Linked DNA regions of Homo sapiens: region 1 is linked to region 2. Evidence: promoter capture Hi-C in human tissues and cell types (Jung and others, 2019). All regions are on one chromosome and are shown on one strand. Each heading gives the region's core, a stretch centred on a gene start or on the middle of the fragment in contact. The rest is flanking DNA. Distances are from core to core; before and after follow the strand shown.

Region 1 (4,904 bases), core at 918-3,417, 1.1 Mb after region 2:
GATTCGAACGAGACACACAAATGTGCACCTCTCTAGTATTCTGATTATGTACATGAACATGTCTGGCATCATACAGGTATTTAAAAAACGTTAGTTCCAAATGCAATGTGGAACACTGGACTAGGTCCTAGCACAGAAAAGAGATACTAGTGGAAGGCCTGGTGACATCCAACCAAGTCTGTGTTTCAGTTAACAGTAAAGTGTTGATGTTAATATCTTAGTTCTGACCACTGTTCTATGATTATGGACGATCAGGGGAGACTGGGTTATGGGCACATCAATTTTCTTCTCTAACTTTTCAACTTTTCAATCAATTTAAAATTATTCCATTGGAAACTTGAGAGGAGGGTAAAATTTTTAAAATTAAAAATAAGTAAAATAAAATAATTCCAAAATTTAGAAATTTTCTTTAAAAAGAAGTTAACTGAAGCCGGTCGTGGTGGCTCACGCCTGTAATCCCAGCACTTTGGGAGGCCGAGGCGGGGGGATGACCTGAGGTCAGGAGTGGCCAACATGGTGAAACCCCATCTCTACTTAAAATACAAAAATTAGCCAGTCGTGGCGGTACGCACCTGTAATCCCAGCTACTTGGAAGGCTGAGAAGGGAGAATCGCTTGAACCCAGGAGGTGGAGGCTGCAGTGAGCCAAGATCGCGCCATTGCACTCCAGCCTGGGGTACAAAAGCGAGACTTCGTCTCAAAAAAAAAGTAAAAAAAAAAATAAAAAGAAGTTAACTGGCTGGGCGCAGTGGCTCACACCTGTAATCCCAGCACTTTGGGAGGCCGAGGCAGGCAGATCACAAGGTCAGGAGATCAAGACCATCCTGGCTAACGCAATGAAACCCTATCTCTACTAAAAATACAAAAAATTGGCCAGGCGTGGTGGCACACACCTGTAGTCCCAGCTACTCGGGAGGCTGAGGCAGGAGAATCGCTGGAGCCCGGGAGGTGGAGGTTGCAGTGAGCCAAGATCGTGCCACTGCACTCCAGCCTGGGTGACAGAGTGAGACTCCATCTCAAAAAAAAAAAAAAAAAAAGTTAACTGAATCAGAAATAAATGTTGAATGAAAAATAACTGAGACTAGGATAAACATCCAAATAGAGCCAACAGAGAAAGAAGGCTGGGCATGGTGGCTCCCACCTGGAATACCAGCACTTTGGGAGGCTGAGGTGGGCAGATCACTTGAGGCCAGGAGTTCAAGACCAGCCTGGCCAAAACAGTGAAACCTCATCTCTACTAAAAAAAAAAAAAAAAAAAAAAAAAACTTAGCTGGGCATGGTGTCACACACCTGTAATCCCAGCTACTCCAGAGGCTGAGGCAGGAGAATCACATGAACCCGGGAGATGGAGGTTGCAGTAAGCCAAGATTGTGCCATTGCACTCCAGCCTGAGTGACAGAGCGAGACTCCTTGTAAAAAAAAGAAGAAGAAGAAAACCAAGATCGTTTCTTCCCCTGCAGATACAGAAAGATAAGCTGGCAAGGGAAGCCAAGGGGAGGATGAGAGAGGCGGCAAGAGAGCCAGGTGGTGTCCAGAGGGCCAGGGGAGTTTCAAAGAGAATGGCAATGCCAAGAGCACCCACCCTAAGGGGCAGAGAGGTTGCCCAGAGTCCAAATTCAGACGGCCAGATTGGACCACTGCTAGACCAGCAGCTGATGGCATGGAAGCCAAGCTACAGAGGGGCAAGGAAGCTCCAGAGCCTAAGCTGGGGCAGACCTCGGGACAGACCTCGGGGCAGACCTTGTTGAAGGTAATGGTGTCTCTCTGGATTGTGGCTTATATTTACAAAACATTTTTGCATGTTCTAATGTTCTAATATGTTCTAATATGAAAAGAATATGGCAAACAGAACCTCTATGACTTTCCCAGTGACTCCATTTTAAACATTAGCACCACATTTGCTACAGAGCCACTCACGGATGGGGAAATGTCGTCATCATATTTTTTTAGCTGATTCATAAACTCCAGATGCTTCTTCTCCTCCTCCAGTTGAGCCACAGACTGCTCACTCTTCTGCAGTTTCTGCTGCGTGTTGGCCAGTTCATCCCGTAGCCACTGATTCTCCTGGCACAGACGACGAACCTGCGCACGCAGTTTCTGCTTCTCGGACTCCACAGCATTCAGGTGATTTGACAAAGCCATCATAACCTGAGCAGACAGAAACGTGTGCAGCACTGTGGCACGTTGTCCAGCAAGAGTCCCTCCCACCCGTGCGAACATTCTGTGGCTGGGGCTGTAGCTTACACTCGCAGATATTTTCTCCAAAGTACATATAAGTACAATCTGCCATTTACTTCTCTTTTCCCCTTCAGCCACAGACTACAAAGCAGGGTATGATAAAGAATATCACACGCTCAGAATGCCTACAAAAAAATACTTATTTTTTTGAAGAGCATGCCAAATGAACTAGCAATGAAAACACAGCTACCCTTCTGATGAAACTGTATTATTTTACTTTCTATCAAGATGGGCCCAACATAATTTTTTATAGACCCTTTCCCATGTGTAAGACCTCGTGTACACACATGCATGTCTGCGCACAGAGTGCATGTTGGTGAAGGGCTGCAAGTGGGGGTCAGAGAACAGTGCACATACAAATCTTCCTTGATGTTCCAAGGTGAGAGAAGACATCTCTGTAGCTACCACCAAGAGTAAGAATGCACTGGTGCACTCATAAGCTTATGTTTATGTCATAAAATCCAGGGGCCACTCCAGGGCTCTGCCTACAGAGTGCTCACTGGTTTCTGGAACAGACCAGCGTGAGGCTGTGGCAAGTTCCTAGGAGCATAAGAGCACAAACAGCTAGGAGCTGGCTGGCAGCAATCTGTTCTCTCTTTAGAACATACATCTGCCCATCCCTCTCATAACATAATAACCAGGTTATTATCCTCCTAGGTTTAAAACCTGAAACTCCAGAAGGTGGGACCTTTTCTTCCTTCTTTTTTTAAAACTCTTATCTGCGACACCAAAAAAGCAAGTTTAAATTCATGTCACCTGTTCTCAAGGTAACAGAACTTGAGAAATAATACGTTCACAATATCCAAACAGAGCTACAGTTCTGCAACTCAAGGCTGTAACATGGTTAGGATGAAGACTCTAAAATCAGGGTGTGGGCAGTCACTTCCTCTATGAAAGCAGAAACCGCTGGCCAGCAGCCCCTCTTCTGCTCTATTCACTCACTAAACTAGAGAATGCTAAGAAAGAAGCAAAGCTTTGGTATATTTAATTTTACCTAAGATATGCTGACAGAGCCAGAAGTTATCAGGAGAGAGTATTTAAAAACCTAGATGTTTCCAGTGTTTTCATCTCTATGTCAAGCATGATATTATAGAAACAAAGGTTAGTCAAAGATATGAAGCAATCTGGCCCTGGGATTGCAGAGACCATCACCCACTGGCCAGTGTCCATTCTCCTTCCTTAGGCTTAAGGACCTGCCACTGTAAGTGGGAAGACAACATTCCCCAGTCTCCCACTCACCCAGGTACAGCCATAAGGTCTGGCCAATGCAATGTAAGCACTGCTGTACACATCATCAAAGCAGCAGCCTTCAAGGAAGGAGGCACGTCCTTCCTTTCCCTTCCCCTATGCTAGAACAGGGCCACATGGAGCTCACTCTCAGTCCCCAAGACAGGCTGCCAAGGTGCAGTGTGGCAGATGTTAGGAACCTGAGTATCCCCGATGACTGTGTAGCTACAGAACCCGTCCAGGAGAGTGTACCTCAGTACTTATTTGACAAACATCTTGTGGTTTAAGCCACTGTTTTTGTTTTTTTGATACTGGCAGCCAAATCAAATCCTAAATGATACACAGCAGTATCCACTATTTTGGATCCGCTTTTCAAAATTCAGAGAGGCCCTGAGGTCAGGAGTTCAAGACCAGCCTGGCCAACATTTTAGTTTCTACTAAAAATACAAAAAATTAGCCAGGAATGGTGGTATGTGCCTGTAATCCCAGCTACTTGGGAGGCTGAGGCAGGAGAATCACTTGAACCCGGGGGACAGAGGTTGCAGTGATCTGAGATTGAGCCATTGCACTCCAGCCTGGGCGGCGAGAGCAAACACTGTCTCAAAAAAATAAAAATAAAAATAAAATTCAGAGGCCGGGCATGGTGGCTCGCGCCTGTAATCCCAACACTTTGCTGAGGCAGGTGGATCACGTGAGGTTGGGAGTTCAAGACCAGCCTAACCAACATGGAGAAACCCTGTCTCTACTAAAAATACAAAATTAGCCAGGTGTGGTGGCCCATGCCTGTAATCCCAGCTACTTGGGAGGCTGAGGCAGGAGAATCATTTGAGCCCAGGAGGCAGAGGATGCAGTGAGCCGAGACTGCATCACTGCACTCCAGCCTGGGCAGCAAGAGCAAAACTCCATCTCAATCAATCAATCAATACAATTCTGATAGGCCCAAATCAATAGTAATTTATTAACATACAGAACACATGATCTGTTTTGTTTTGTTTTTTCTTTGAGAAAAAGTCTCGCTCTGTCACCCAGGCTGGAGTGCAGTGATGCAATTTTGGCTCCCTGCAACCTCTGCCTCCCAGGTTCAAGTGATTCTCCTGCCTCAAGCCTGCCTAGTAGCTGGATTACACACGCCAGCCACCAGGCCCGGCTAATTTTTGTATTTTTAGTAGAGTCAGGGTTTCGCTATGTTGGCCAGGCTGGTCTCAAACTCCTGACCTCAAGTGATCCACCTGCCTCAGCCTCCCAAAGTGCTTGGATTACAGGCCTGAGCCACACCGCACTCGGCCTGGATCTGTTATTCTATAATCATCTTTCCTCTTCTTTAGTGAAACTGCTTATTTCAAACAAGTCTCCATTTTACCATCAAAAGTTCCTGATAACGTCTGAGTCATTCTCACTCGTACCTGTGCCTCACTCAGGCCGAGCTCCAACATCTCCAGT
Region 2 (5,747 bases), core at 2,174-4,673:
CTTGGACCCCTGGAATGACACTGCACTTACAGCCACTGAGACTAGCTTAGGGACGGCAGAGGCCTGGCTCCCACTGCCGCCGGCCATCCACCCTAAGGACCCCTTCCTGAGGAAGGTCAACTCCCCTCTCTCCACGCATTTAAATAATCATCTGCCTTGCCCCAGCCACCAGCAGGAATAGCTGAATTCAAGTAAGTTAAGGGTGAACTCAGATGTGACTGCTCCCTTCCTGCCCTGCCTGGATCACAGCCCTGCCCCGGCCCCTCCCAACCTTGAGCACGACCAAACCTTTAACCTCTTTGAACCTCAGTAATCCTCATCTGCAAAATGGGAGTCAGAGTGCATCCCGGGGTCTTCGTGAACATTAACGACAGGGCCTGGCACTCAGCAAGCTCTCAGGCTCTGGAATGTTCTTCCCCAAAGAACCCTTCACTGGTTTCTCTTCATCCCTGTCTCTGCTGAAAGTCCACTCCTTAGTCAGGGTGGCCATTCCTGCCCACCTTCGCTAAGTTCCCTCGCAGTCCCTTCTGCTGCATACCCTCCTTTCCAGCCCATTCCGGGTGTCCTGTGATTGTGGGATATTCCAGCACCTTCTGAAAGGGAAGGGGCTGTTTGGTCACTTGGTGCTTAAAAGTTGGCAGGACGCAAGTGGGTGTTCAGTAAATGTTTGTTGAGTGAATGTGTGACGGTTGCTTCTGTGAGTGATTACGATGGTCCCACCATCCCTAATCCTGACTCCTCTGTGGCAACATTCCAGCCCTGCCTGCCCACACCCCCAGCCCCTGAACCTTCAGAGCAAGTAGGGGTGGCCTGCCACACTGGGGCTCTGGGCAACAGGCTGACAGCTCCCCACTGCAGGCTGGGAGCAAGCACCCTAGCCTGCCCTGCCTGGCTGGCGGGACAGAGAGAGCCTGGACACTTAATGGGGGTTGTGGTACACAGGGAGGGTCAGGATGCTGCCTTCAGGAGCCTAGGGTAGGACCTGGAAGGAGGGCCCAGCTAGGAATGGGCTAGATGAAGGGGAGGGGACAGTGGGAGAGAAGCTCCTTATCCCTCTCAGGTCGGGATGTCTGGGTTCAAGTCCCTCCTGCCCCACACCGATCAGGGAAGGGGGGCTGTTCCAGGCAGAGACCGCCCAGAGTTGGTGCTGGGATCCTGGCCAGCCTGTAGTCCTCAGAGCCCCTGTGACTGGCTGGGTCTCAAGTGCAGGAATGACAGGACACCGTCACACAGCCACTGTCGCGGCGGTGGTGGTTCAGGCAGAACCTCTGCAGACTCAGGCGGCCATCTGGCCTGGGAGCTGCCCTGAGGCCCCGCCCTGCAGCTGCTGCTGGGACCTACACAGCCCAGGGCCCTCGAGTCCTGCCCCCGGCCAGCAGCTGCAGAAGGTGACAGGGCAGGAGGCCCCTGAGCTCTGGGAGGAGGCAGCCGTCGGGCCCTTCCCTGGTGCAGCAGTTTTTGTCGGAAACATCTGGCCACAGAGCACCTCAGCAGTCCCAGCAGCAGCCGTGGGGCTGGGTTCTCTCCTGACCATTCTGTCTGGGGTGGGAGGGGGTGTTCTTGAAGAGAGGACTCTGCTTTCCCTCTGGGACGCTGGAGGAGAGGGAGATGGCCCTGCCCACTGGGAGATCCCCGTCTTGGGGGAGGGCAGTTCATGCCAAGGTGAAGACAGGACTGGAGTGTGGGGCCCACAGTGGGTTGCAGGCACCAGCAGATGCCAGGGCACCAGGCTGGGAAGACTGGGAGGCCTCCTTGGAGACAGCCAGTGCAAAATAAGCAAGAGGTCCAACCACTTCAAGAACAGCCCGCAATGTCACTGCCTCTTCCATGAGAGGGTGCCCTGCTCCCTCCCACATCCCCAAGCCTCGGCCACTTGCTGGCCTTGTCTCATGGCCCTCTTACCCTCTGCTTCCTCCCTGAATTCCTTCCTCCATCCTTGCATGGCAGAGCCCAGGATGGTGGACAGATACCAGGAACTCTTCCTCGGGGAGCAGTGGGCAGGTGGGACAGTCCCAGAGGGAGCCCCAGGTGGCTCATGGTGCAGGTTTGCTGGGTGAGAGACAGACACCAGACGCCCAGGCTCTGGGGGCAACCCTTGTGTCAGGTATCCCACCCAAGCGGCGCAGACCACTGGGCCTCTGACTTGGCCCCCTGGAGGTGGGCCCTTCCTGGGGTTACAAAGTCTGAGCTGGGAGGGAGCAGAGGTGCTCAGGCGAGAGGCAGGAATGGGGAGTCCCCTGTCTGAGGAGCGAGTGCCCTCATGCAGGGGGAGAGAGTCCTTCTCTTGGTCAGCCCCAAGAGGCAGGGATGAAGCCCGAGTTTTGGCTGCAGACTCTGTCCTGAGCACTGGGCCGAACCTGCTGCCTCTGTCTGCATCTCCTCCCACCCCCTCCCCTGCTGCCAGCTGAACTCACTCTGGCTGAAAATAAAAATGCTCCCCCAACCCCAATACTTAGCAGCCTCAGGAAGGTAACTCACAAGAGTCTGTCTTTCACAAAAGGGTTATTATCAACTGTGGGCCTCTGGAATGGGGGAGGGGCAGTTGTCGGAGGAACTTCTGGCTAGGAAGGGGTCGGGGTGGCAGTCACCTGCACTCTCCTGTGAGTGTCCAGGAGAAAGGGGTCTGTGTCCCACTTACTCATTCCATACCCGGGCCATCTGCCTCCCAGTGGACTTCGGACTGGGTGTCCGGGCTGACCAAGTCCACCCAGCAGGGAGGGCTCTGGGCTGTCAGCTGTCACAGCCCACCCTAGACACCGCTCCTCCTCTGTCTGGTGTCTGCTCCCAGCTCAAGGTGGGAGCCAGGCAAGGTGTGCCCCTCTTCTCCCACTCCCCAGCAAAGTCCCCCTTTTGTGAGTGTAGCTGCCAGTACCTAGGTGAATGGTTGACTCCCCTCGGAGCCTTCCTGCTCCTTGGAGGCCCACCTCCAACTGACCTCCTGTCCTGGCATCCTCCCGCACTTCCCCCAGAGGCACAAGGTCTTGGGATTGGGCCTTTTAGGTCACTCTTGGCCGCCCCCTCCACGCCCCCCAGAGTGGGGCAGCCTGAAAGTCAACCTAAGCCACCCCCGCCCCGCGCGCGGAGGCAGAAGTCCGGGATTCGTCCCTGACCTGTCTCGGGCCCCTTCTGCTAGGGTCACGGCAGAGCGAGCCCAGAAGCGCCGGGTCACTTTACAGACGGGGAAACTGAGGCCAGAGAGGGCGTGGCCCCGGGACGGGCTGGCTGGTGGCCGGGCTCCGTTAGCGGCCCAGCCCAGGCCCCAGGTCGTCGGGAGCTGCCCCTCAGCCCGGCCGCGCGCTCCCCGAGCGCGCTCCGCCCTCGCCGCCGGCCGCGCGGTGGGGACGCCCCGGGCGGCGGAGGCGGATGTGGGCGGGCGGCTCCGGGCGCGGGGCGGGCGCGGGGCGGGGAGAGGGCGGGCCGGCGGCGGCGGCAGGACCGAGCGCGGCAGGCGGCTGGCCCAGCGCACGCAGCGCGGCCCGAAGACGGGAGCAGGCGGCCGAGCACCGAGCGCTGGGCACCGGGCACCGAGCGGCGGCGGCACGCGAGGCCCGGCCCCGAGCAGCGCCCCCGCCCGCCGCGGCCTCCAGCCCGGCCCCGCCCAGCGCCGGCCCGCGGGGATGCGGAGCGGCGGGCGCCGGAGGCCGCGGCCCGGCTAGGCCCGCGCTCGCGCCCGGACGCGGCGGCCCGGTGAGTCCCCGCCCGCCGTGGCCGCCCGGGCCTGGATTTCCTCCCCGCGGGCCGGGCCGCTTTGTTCGCGGCCGGTCGGGCCGGGGCGCGAGCCGCGGCGCCGCCAGAATGGAGGAGCGGGAGCAGGAAGTGGCCGAGCGGGCCTGGGCGGGGAGGGCGCGGGGCGCGCGGGCCCGGCCAAGGGAGGGCGGCCCCACGCCGGGCGCCGGGGGTGCAGGCTGCCGGCCCCAGCCTCCCTCATGACCTTGGGGAGGCCGCTCCGCCGGGCGAGGCCGGGACCCGAGAGAAGGGACGCCGCCGGGCCTGGAGCTGGGGCTCGGGGTGCCCCTGCGGGCCGTGGGGCTCCCCGGGCGCTGGGCCAGCGAGGCAGCCGGCGGAGGTGCCCCGGGGTTGGAGAAAGACTCGCCGCGGCCGGCCTTCAAGTTTGTGGGAGGGCCCCGGAAGGAGACTTCGTTTCCCACGGACGAAAAGTTGTACGTGGTGGCGGGGTACCCAGGCTAGCCACAAAGGACTGTGACCCTCCTGGGCCCCGGAACTGCTTCCTGTCTTGGGTGGGCCCTGGAGGTCCTGCCCGCCCATCCCAGAGGCCAAGGCTTGGAGGGCAGCTGGGGCTTGCCCCTTAGATTGAGTATCCTGGGGCGCTAGCGAGCTTGGTCCTGTCGGGACGGCCTCTGAGTGCTGCCTTGGTCAGCGGGTGAGCTTGGGCCCCTGCTCTGCAGCCAGAGGCCGCCCCACATTCACTCCTGGGTCTCTCGGCCTTGCTCCAGGTGGCCACTTCTTGACTGCTTTGAGTCCCTCATCCGAGCGAAGGGCGGACGGAGTCCGTTGGTGGGGGTCCGGTTGCCTCTCCCGGGAGCTGTGTAGACTTCTCATACACCAGGGTTCTGGAGGCAGATGGAGGAGCCCTTTCGAAAACAGAGTATTTTTTTTTAAGTTGTGACTTAATAATAGTAGCAAGAATATGTGCTTATGGTAAAGGCAGGCGGCAGGTACGGAGGCTGTGGGAAGTCGGGGTCCCTCCGCCCCCACAGGCAGCCCTGTGCTGGCCTGGTGTATACGTTTCTGTGCAGACGTACACCACCCTGTGTGAGCACAGATGTATTTTTACACATGGCTCTGGACAGCTGTCTGACTCTGTCAGCAGCAGGCCTTGGAGGGGCTCAGGCCCGTGTGGGGGTGGGGGGACATCCAGAGGTCTTTGAGTCCAGCCCTCTGCCTCCAGGCCACGCCCACTCAGTGTCGTCAGAGCCCCCTGTGCCTGAGGCGTGCGCGGCTCGGAGCCCTGCCCTCGGAGTCCTGCGGTGCCTTCCTCGAGTCTGGCCTGCTTTCCATCCTGCTAAGTACTTGGGGCATTTCCCTCTTTGGGTAAGGTGTGGTCTTCCCTGTCCTGGCATTAGACACAAGGCAGTGGGCCTTCCTGCCATTCTAAGTGTAGCTTAAGACAATCAGTGCAAAGCAACCCTTTGTGGGTGTCCAGCCCTTGCCTCGGGAGGCCAGAAAGGTGGCCTGGGGGGAGAGCGTCTAAGCTGGCTGTGGAAAGACCCATGTTGGGATCCATTCCACAGAGGTCGTCAGGGGTCTCTGCCTGGCCTGGAGGTCCCAGAGAGGACCCTCCTCCCCTCAGGAAGGCCCATCTGGAAGGGTAGCAGAGGACTGCTCACAGGAAGAGCATGCGAAGTGCTCTTTCTGGGGATGCCTGTAGTTGGTGATGTGGGAACTGGGTTTTGAGGGATGCCTAGGAGTTCATCCATCAGAGGGGAAATGAGGAAGCCATGCAGGATCAATGGATAAAGTGTGCTCAGGTGAGGGTTGGCTGGTGGGCCGCTGCAGGGCGGGGGCCTGTCCAGTGCTCCCCCACTTACTTGCTGCCTCCCGACTGCTGTAATTATGGGTCTGTAACCACCCTGGACTGGGTGCTCCTCACTGACGGACTTGTCTGAACCTCTCTTTGTCTCCAGCGCCCAGCACTGGGCCTGGCAAAACCTGAGACGCCCGGTACATGTTGGCCAAATGAATGAACCAGATTCAGACCGGCAGGGGCGCTGTGGTTTAGGAGGGGC

What was found. Contacts are between HindIII fragments. The study calls those that stand out against the background at their distance.
Region 1: a fragment that was not itself captured here is called in contact with the fragment with the promoter of AKT1 in region 2 in 1 of the 25 tissues and cell types used here (lymphoblastoid cells).

What each region holds. Positions count from the first base shown.
Region 1 is chr14:103,654,789-103,659,692 of GRCh38, reverse strand. KLC1 (kinesin light chain 1) reads right to left here. Exons shown (of 17, transcript NM_001394837.1): 2 at 4,868-4,904; 3 at 1,917-2,147. Among named protein-coding and RNA genes, the nearest start is that of KLC1, 28 kb to the right of the region's middle. The HindIII fragment of the contact is 3,897 bases long and covers 219-4,115 here.
Region 2 is chr14:104,793,424-104,799,170 of GRCh38, reverse strand. AKT1 (AKT serine/threonine kinase 1) reads left to right here and starts at 3,423. Exons shown (of 15, transcript NM_001382430.1): 1 at 3,423-3,687. RefSeq lists enhancers at 729-1,501, 1,502-2,274, 4,316-4,957, 4,958-5,597, 5,598-5,747 and silencers at 3,112-3,471, 3,652-3,701, 3,732-4,051. The HindIII fragment of the contact is 31,557 bases long and covers 1-5,747 here.